Regions from separate parts of the Homo sapiens genome. Here region 2 is linked to region 1. Evidence: promoter capture Hi-C in human tissues and cell types (Jung and others, 2019). All regions are on one chromosome and are shown on one strand. Each heading gives the region's core, a stretch centred on a gene start or on the middle of the fragment in contact. The rest is flanking DNA. Distances are from core to core; before and after follow the strand shown. Region 1 holds the start of ETFA (electron transfer flavoprotein subunit alpha). Region 2 overlaps HMG20A (high mobility group 20A).

What was found. The method cuts DNA at HindIII sites, captures the fragments that hold promoters and counts their contacts. A contact is called where the count stands out against the background at its distance.
Region 2: a fragment that was not itself captured here is called in contact with the fragment with the promoter of ETFA in region 1 in 1 of the 25 tissues and cell types used here (spleen).

The regions. Positions count from the first base shown.
Region 1 is chr15:76,308,963-76,313,502 of GRCh38, forward strand. ETFA (electron transfer flavoprotein subunit alpha) reads right to left here and starts at 2,507. Exons shown (of 12, transcript NM_000126.4): 1 at 2,388-2,507. The coding sequence starts at 2,426. RefSeq lists enhancers at 1,759-2,259, 2,260-2,760, 2,970-3,019, 3,080-3,129. The HindIII fragment of the contact is 24,969 bases long and covers 1-4,540 here.
Region 2 is chr15:77,421,676-77,425,686 of GRCh38, forward strand. The region is part of intron 1 of HMG20A (high mobility group 20A); the gene reads left to right. Among named protein-coding and RNA genes, the nearest start is that of HMG20A, 2.8 kb to the left of the region's middle. The HindIII fragment of the contact is 3,083 bases long and covers 1,051-4,011 here.

The DNA.
Region 1 (4,540 bases), core at 1,257-3,756:
AAACCAGGGGAAGGGTTTTGAGATTTCTTTGTACTATTCTTGCAACTTTTCTATAAGTGCAACTATTTCAAAATTTAAAAAGTTAAATACAGGTATATGTCCCTATTAATATATGGGTCCACTTTAGAAGTGTTGCCACCATTTCTTTTATGCTAGAAATCCAAATCTCTCCAACATTCTTAATGACTTTAAAACAGCTATTCTAGGCTGGGCGCGGTGGCTCACGCCTGTAATCCCAGCACTTTGGGAGGCCAAGGCGGGCGGATCATGAGGTCAGGAGATCGAGACCATACCGGCTAACACAGTGAAACCCCCGTCTCTACTAAAAATACAAAAAAATTAGCGGGGCGTGGTGGCGGGTACCTGTAGTCCCAGCTACTCAGGAGGCTGAGGCAGGAGAATGGCGTGAACCCGGGAGGCGGAGCTTGCAGTGAGCTGAGATCGCGCCACTGCACTCCAGCCTGGGCGACAGAGCGAGACTCCGTCTCAAAACAAACAAACAAACAAACAAAAAAAACAGCTATTCTACTTAGCTTGACTTCAAATTTTAAAAATAAGTCAAGGTCAAAGTCTTTGGCAAACCACAATGAATATCTGGAAGTAATGTCTATACACATTAGCCAACGATGTGGATAGTAAAAATTACTTAATCATTCCATTTTTTTCTGTTAGCTCTACAAAATTACTGAGTCCTAAATTCCATCCCCCACCACAATTATAATTTCACTTAGGCCAGACTTGTAATCTGTCCACAAAACTGTTTTCCAACTGCTGCATAGAGCAGCATTCTTCTGGCTCAGGTTCCTGGAATTTCCCCAAATTCATGATTTTCACTTGTTTATGTCTAGATCCCCAACCGGGAGAAAACATGTCCTGAGGGGAAGACAGGACACTAACCTGAAAGACATGGGTTTGAACTCTTTAGGGGAGGGGAGGGTCAGAACTTTTTATTAAACAAGGAATACGCACAAGAAAAAAGATGTCTAAGGCCAGGTGCGGTAGCTCAGGCCTGTAATTCCAGGACTTTGGGAGGCCGAGGCAGGTGGATCACTTGAGGACAAGAGTTCGAGACCAGCCTGGGTAACATGGGGAAACCCCGTCTCTACAAAAAAAAAAAAAAAAAAAAAAAAAAAATTAGCCAGGCGTGATGATGCGCACCTGTGATCCCAGCTTCTCGGGAAGCTGAGGTGGGAGAATCGCTTGAACCTGGGAGGCGACGGTTGCAGTGAGCCCATATCGTGCCACTGCACTCCACTCCAGCATGGGAAACAGAGCCAGACCTTGTCTCTTAAACAAACAAACAAACAAACAAACAAAAGTCTAATGTCTACAGACATCTAGAAAGAGCTCCAGCTATGCCTCAGAGAGAAAAATCCCAGGAGTGGATGGGAAAATATCCATGCCCAGAAAAAAAAAAAAAAAAAAAAAAAGGAGAAAAGGTACAAACCATCAGGTAAGTTTCTGACCCAAGTTTACCAATCTTGTTTCTCATTTCACCTAAATGTAAACTAGGAAAACTACACAATCCACAATATAAATTATTGTTACTTGACTTGTGACTGGTCAGTCTCCAAATACTCCTTTCCCACAGCATGAGAAGGAAAATATGTTTCCTATCAGTCCTTCTCACAACAGAAGAGAGAAATGTGGTTTGTCACTAATGAAACACTGAAAATGTACCACTGTCACCAGTTAACCTAATCTACAATCTGCTGGTTAAAAGCAGGTCAGCCTGAAGCATATAAAAAGACGTCTGCCTTTCAAAACTGGCTAAAGCTGTCAAATCGGATCGCAGGTTTTACAAATACAATCACCTAAATTCAGCCCTGCTCCATAAACCAGAAAGCAGAACCAGCTTCCATAACTGGCCACGCAGCCTCCCACCCCACCCCACCCCCGCCCTTGACAGTGAGTGGGTCGGAGTAGCCACGATGCGCCCAAAGTGTTTAATTCTTCCAGAAATGCCGGCCTCCGGGAGGAATCTAGGTTTGAAACTTTCCCCAACAGGGCATTCCCCGGTGACATTTTGCTCCCTCGGGTGTGGAGCAAGTGTGGAGGACCTGGCGGCCCGAAAGTGCCCAGAGTGACCGACAAAGGTGGGAAACGGCAGGGCAGAGAGTGGGCCAGAAGAAGGGGCAGCAGACGCGCAAATTCACATCATTCGGGGTCACCCTGACCCCAAACCTCTGACTTCTGCCCCGAACTGGCGTTCCGCAGGGAGTCCAGGGTAGGCCCCAGAACTTTGGACCCAAGTCCCAGGCGGGGACCGGCCTGCGGGCGCGAGGGCTGGTCGAATCTGAGGGGGCCAGTGATCTTTGCAAGACCCCATAGGGACGGCGGGTTGACGGGGGGCCGTCCCTGGGTTCGCCTTCCCAGTCCGGACTCACCGCCCGCCGGAGCTGCCCCGGAGCCGCCGCTCGGAACATGGTCTCCGCTTCCGCCGCAACCTCGGCCTTACAGCAGCCCCGTGCCCGGCCAACTGGCGCCGCCTCAGCCAGTCACCTAATGCTCGCGAGACGCGCGAACGAGATAAGACGCCCTAGGCCGGGAGCACGAGCCCGCGGTTTCCGCCTGCCCATTGGGCGGCTGCGCAGCCAATAGACGGCGGGAAGTTAGGGGCTAGACTGGGAAGTGGGGCAAAGGTGAGGCTATTCCCCGGGGACCTTCGAGTAAGCCCGGGCCGCGGAGCGGCAGAGACAAAGCTGGCCACCCGCTGATGACCGAGCTCAGACTGTACTGTCTCACAGCCCCGCAATGGTCAGCACTGCTAGAGTGAACTTCAAAACTGAGCTGACCTCGGGGTAAGGTACGAGTGGAGCCTTGCCAATTCCAATTAGATACCTTTCCTATATGCCCCTATTTCCCCCTGTATTTCCCCATGGTAGCAATTGTCACATGGGTTGTAATAACCTAAGTACTTGTCTGTGTCACCCATCTGACTGAAGATCTGTAAGGGCAGAAAGTATGCCCTTTTTTTTTTTTTTTTTTTTGAGAGAGAGAGAGTCTCCCTCTGTCACCCTGGCTGGAGTGCAGTGGCGCGAGCTCAGCTCACTGAAAGCTCCGCCTCCCGGGTTCACTCCATTCTTCTGCCTCAGCCTCCCGAGTAGCTGGGACTACAGGCGCCCGCCACCACGCCCAGCTAATTTTTTTGTATTTTTAGTAGAGACGGGGTTTCACAGTGTTAGGCAGGATGGTCTCGATCTCCTGACCTCGTGATCCGCCCGCCTCGGACTCCCAAAGTGCTGGGATTACAGGCGTGAGCCACCGCGCCCGGCCAGTATGCCCTACTTTTAAATTTTGTGTCTACCTGCAACACCTAGCACAATGCCTGGTCCATACTAGGCATTCAATCAGTATGTGTTGAATGAATAAGCAAATGAATAAATGACTGCTAATGAGTCTGGACTTTAACACGAAATTTTTAAGAGGGAAGTGGTATGTTCAGAAATTGTCTCAATTCCCAATTCAGCAACAACCTACCTTTCCAATGTTATCTAGTCTATCAACAAATCCCGTTGACTCTACCTTCAAAAGATAACCAGAATCCAGCAATATCCTCCAACACCCCTTTGCTCCTCTGCTGGTATCACCTTCACTCAGGACCCTGTCCTCTCTCGCCTGGATCATTGCAAAGCCTCCTAACTGGTCTTTCTGTTTCTGCCCATGTTTCCAGAAGCCTCTTCTCCAAACTGATGGACTGATCATGACCTCTGCTCAAAGCCCTATGGTGGCTCCCTCTCCTCCCACTGCCCTCTTCTCTCACTGTTCCCCAGATACATAGGCCTTCTTGAGCACACAAGCCTGCTCCTCTCAGAGTTTTGCACTCTGGCTCTTCCCTCTGCCTGAAATGGCCTTCTCTTGTTACCCGCGTGGCGTACTTCCTCACTTCATTCAGGTCTCTGCTCAAAAAACACATTTGCAGAAAGGCCGGCCTTAGCCTCTCCACCTAAAATAGCACCCATGCCACTCCCAGACGCCCTATCACCTTGTTTGATTTTTTTTCTTGGCATTTATCACTGCCTAACAGGATGCACATGTTTGTTTATTGCTGATCTCACTGCATTGGAGTGTAAATTCCCTGAAGCAAGAGCTTTGTCTGAACTAACAAGCACTCTAAGGGCCTTGCGCTTTTGCTCTTCCCTCTGTCTGAAATTCCCTTCCCCATCTGACAGCCCTCTTTAAAACCCAGATCAAGTGACAATTCTTTTGTTCTGTTTAAGACAAGGTCTCACTCTGTTTCCCAGGCTGGAGTGCGGTGGTGCCATCACAGCTCACTGCAGTCTCGAACTCCTGGGATCAAGCAATCTTCCTGCCTCAGCCTCCCAAGTAGCTGGGACTACAGTCATGTGCCACCATGCCCAGCTATTTTTTTTTGTAGGGGCAGGGTTACCCAGGGCTGGTCTCGAACTCCTGGCCTCAAGTGATCTTCCCACCTTGGCCTCTCAAAGTACTGGGATTACAGACATGAGCCACCACGCCTGGCCCAAGTGACATTTCTTTTGTAAGCTCTTTCTCAATTCTGCAGGATGAATTAATCCTT
Region 2 (4,011 bases), core at 1,342-3,841, 1.1 Mb after region 1:
GAATGAAAGTATCACACTGAAGTACTCAAATTTGAGGTTACCTTAACTGATAAAATTGACATCTTAAATTATTAGGACTGTTGATTTTGGGCTACAGGTTTTGCCCTGTGCCTGAGAACAGCTTCTTCAGCCTTAAAAATTCTTATGTGTAGCTTACACGTAACATTTTTGAAAGTTGTATTTTATTACATTTTCCTCCTTTGTAATTTAATTCATCACTGATTTTTAAATGGTATCTGTTCTTTGTGGTTTTAAAGTATAAAGCAAGGGTCATGAGACTCAGCTCAGATTCTAAACAGGAAAAAGTTGGCTCACAAAGGACAAAAGGTCAATAAGAACTTTCTGGTTTTCAGTAGCTCATTTTTAATAAACTATATGTGAGGCGGTAATAAACACTCAATAATTTTGATTCCTTGGTTCTGTTGTCAGATAACACAATACTTAGAAGGGTGTGTGTCTGTGTATTGAAGGAATCAATCTATTTGAAGCTTACTTTGTGAAATCTGAATGTTAGTAATTTTAGTATATATATCAGTGAACCTAGAACTGTATTGTCTTGCAAGAATTTTTGAAGTAATAAGGCCTGTGTACTTTTTCTTTTGGGATTGTACTTAATCTAGCCTCAGACTCTGCGATTATTTTAATTCTATAATAGTTTTTTTAAAAAGCTGTTTGGTCACGCCTGTAATCACAGCACTTTGGGAGGCCTAGGCGGGCAGATCACGAGGTCAGGAGTTCGAGACCAGCCTGGCCAGCATGGTGAAACCCCGTCTCTACTAAAAATACAAAAATTAGCTGGGCGTGGTGGCGTGCGCCTGTAGTCCCAGCTACTCAGGAGGCTGAGGCAGGAGAATTGCTTGAACCCGGGAGGCGGAGGTTGCAGTGAGCCAAGATCGCTCCACTGCACTCCAGCCTGGGCGACAGTGAGACTCCGTCTCAAAAATAGATAAATAAATAAATAGCTGTTTGGGTTAGGGTTCATTAGAAAATATGTTTTAAACCAAATATTACAGTAAAAAAAAATACATGTTTTAATCTTCTGTGGTCACTTTTAAAAAAGAATCTAAGACCCTAAAATCAAGTATGATTTATATTTTGAAAGACCACACGATTGCTGCAGTAGTTGACTGAAAAAGCAAGACAAAACATTGTCTTTGTGGTTATTAATAGGTTAGGAACATGTAGACTGCCCGAAGTAAGAATTAATTGATTAAAGAAGAAGTGTTCACTATCTTCTATATTAATGTAATATAGAAGAAAATATAATATGGTCACCCTGACAAATGAAACTGTAGTGTTAGGAATTATTGAAGTATGGAAAGATTGTAGAACTAAATGAAAAAAATAGAGAATATCATGTTAAAATACTGATTGAGATAGAGTAATATTGCCTTTTGGAAACTGTCTTTATTAAATTGGTCTTTATGGTACTCCATGGAAGAAATACAGTATAATAGAAATAAGAAAAATTGTTGCAGCTGAAAGACTTGAGCAGCTTGAAGAACTATCTGTTTAGAAGAAAGCAATATATAAAATACCTATCTGAAAGAAGGTATTTTGTGATAAGTGGCAGTTATTCATTGGTTCCATCAAAGAAGAAATATTAGAAAAGCTTGTGAAAAATAGAGAGAGAAGGTCCATAGAACCTGTTTTTATTCTTTTTAAAAATGTTTCTTTAGAGAGGCTTGCTGTCCTCCAAAGGTTTTTTTTTCTTAATGCCCTTTGTGCAGTTTTCTTTGCATGTTTAATAGAAATATAGTATCAAAATTTAAAGAATTAATATTTTTGTACATGTACTGTTACTTCAAGTTAATGAATTTGAGATTTCATTCCATTACTTGCCATATATGTAACAAAGAAAGTGTCAAATCTTTTTTTCAAATACTTGGATTAGATAACCATTTTCTTTTCCAAAGACAGTCATTGGATACACTGCTCACAGCAGTTTGAAATATTAAAACCGTAGGTCACAATTCTGGATTCCATCTGACTGAAATTAGATTATCCACAGAGATGTTATACATAATACAGAAGTGTCTTTTCATTCTTTCATCTACTTTACTTTGTAAAATCAGGCTAATGTTTTGCAACTGTTGCTTTCCTTGTTTGTCGTTTTGGTGGTGGTTTGTTTTTGTTGTTGTTTTTGCCGTAGGGTTGAGGATTAAAGAAAGTATCTTAAGAACCTGAATGGTTTTTCACCTTACTGCTTTGCTGTCTCTATTTCATAGCCTTCACAGGTATTCAAATGAGAATACCCTTTACGTGACTTTTCATTATTTAAGCAAAAGTTTAGAGTGTCTACTATATGCCAGTCACTGTTCTCAGGACTTTGAATACAGTAAATACGGCCAAATATTCATATTCTACTGTAGTTTACTCTCTAATTTACAAATTAAAACTAGAATTTTGCTCCCTTGGTATTCCTAAATAAGATCTATGTTATGATCGTTGTTCAGACTGGGTAAAGAAGCAGCCCTAAACTTGATCTCTCCTGGTCTTAATCTCTAAGCCATTCTAAACCCAGATTTGAATGTTTCAGCCTAATTTTTCTCCAGACCATAGAAGCCCCTGTGTTAAATATGCAGTCCCTTTCATTGATACATGTATCATTTTCCTACCATTCTAGCTTCTTTTGTATTGTGAAAACAAATGAGAGTGAACAGTGGGGAAAATATGGGATCAGATAGGCCCAAATTCAGCACTGGTCTCTGCATTTTACTGGCTGAGCTTACTAGCTTGGTAACCATGAGCAATTTATTTGACCTCCCTAAGCCTCAGTTTTCCTAAATCCAAATGGGGTTGTTTGGTGGAATCAGAATGTTGTATGTAAATCTCCTGGTCCAATGCCTGGTGCCAGAAGCTTCATTAATGCAATTATCTTACCCCCAATCTTGCTTCTGCTACTCTGGCTATTGTGATTTGCCCACATGTCTGTTTTAAGCTTTACATTTTCCCCACAGTATGGGATGCAGTGGTAGACTGACTGAGCTTCAGCCTTGTCCCCCTATCAGCATGCTCACACAGTTGTCAAGATTTAATTTTTTTTCCTTGTGGGAAGGAGAAATCACTAATTTCCATGATTAGAAGATATACAAAATAGAAAAGTTTCAAGAAAAGGAATCTTAATCTTGGCACAAATCACTAAGGTAATTTGAATTGTTACAGGCAGACTTTCAACTCATTCTCCTAAACTTATTTAAATACGAAAACCAAAAATGACCTTTCACACTATGATCATACCTCACATTATTCATCTACACATCCAAACGGGATCGCCTCTGGGGGGAAAAAAATCTGTACTGCACCCAGCATTAATATTTTTTTTTGCTCATGCTATTTTCTGCCTGAAACACTCTTTTTTCCTAGGAATCCCCATCTATCAAAATGCCACTTTCTTTGAGGTCGTTTCTCAAGTACCACATTTAAGAAATATTTTCTGATATCCATCCTCTTCTACACTCTCCCAAACTGTACACGTTCTGTCCATTAACTCTCCAGAGCATTATACCTTTCTTACAGCACTTACTGTCCAGTGCTCCTCTTGTTTGTTTTTATTGCGTTGTTGTAGGTAGAGTTTATGCCTTCCCTAAAAGGCTGCAGACTAGGTCTTATTCCACTCTGTGCTGTCATACCTGGCACAAGACCATTCACATCATAGGTATTCAGTAAATATTTGTGGACGTGAGCTGGCTCTTGGAGTATGACAAAACTGATCAATAACTTTTGTCCACAATTATGCCCAGCATCAGCACAATGGCTATCATACATTAGACACTCAAATATCTATAAAATGAAAGAGTGAATAGTAAGTCATCATTCTCTCATTTGGGAGCTTCTTAGGGTGTCAGATAAGCATATATTAAGCACCTCCTATATAACTGGAGCTGTAAGAACTGATCTCTGCTCCTCAATTTAATTGGAAAAAAGTAAATTGTTACTAATATCTGCAGACTTTGAAGATGGTAGGTGTTTGAGTAGGGATGGCATGGAGAGCTTAATATAGAATTGTTT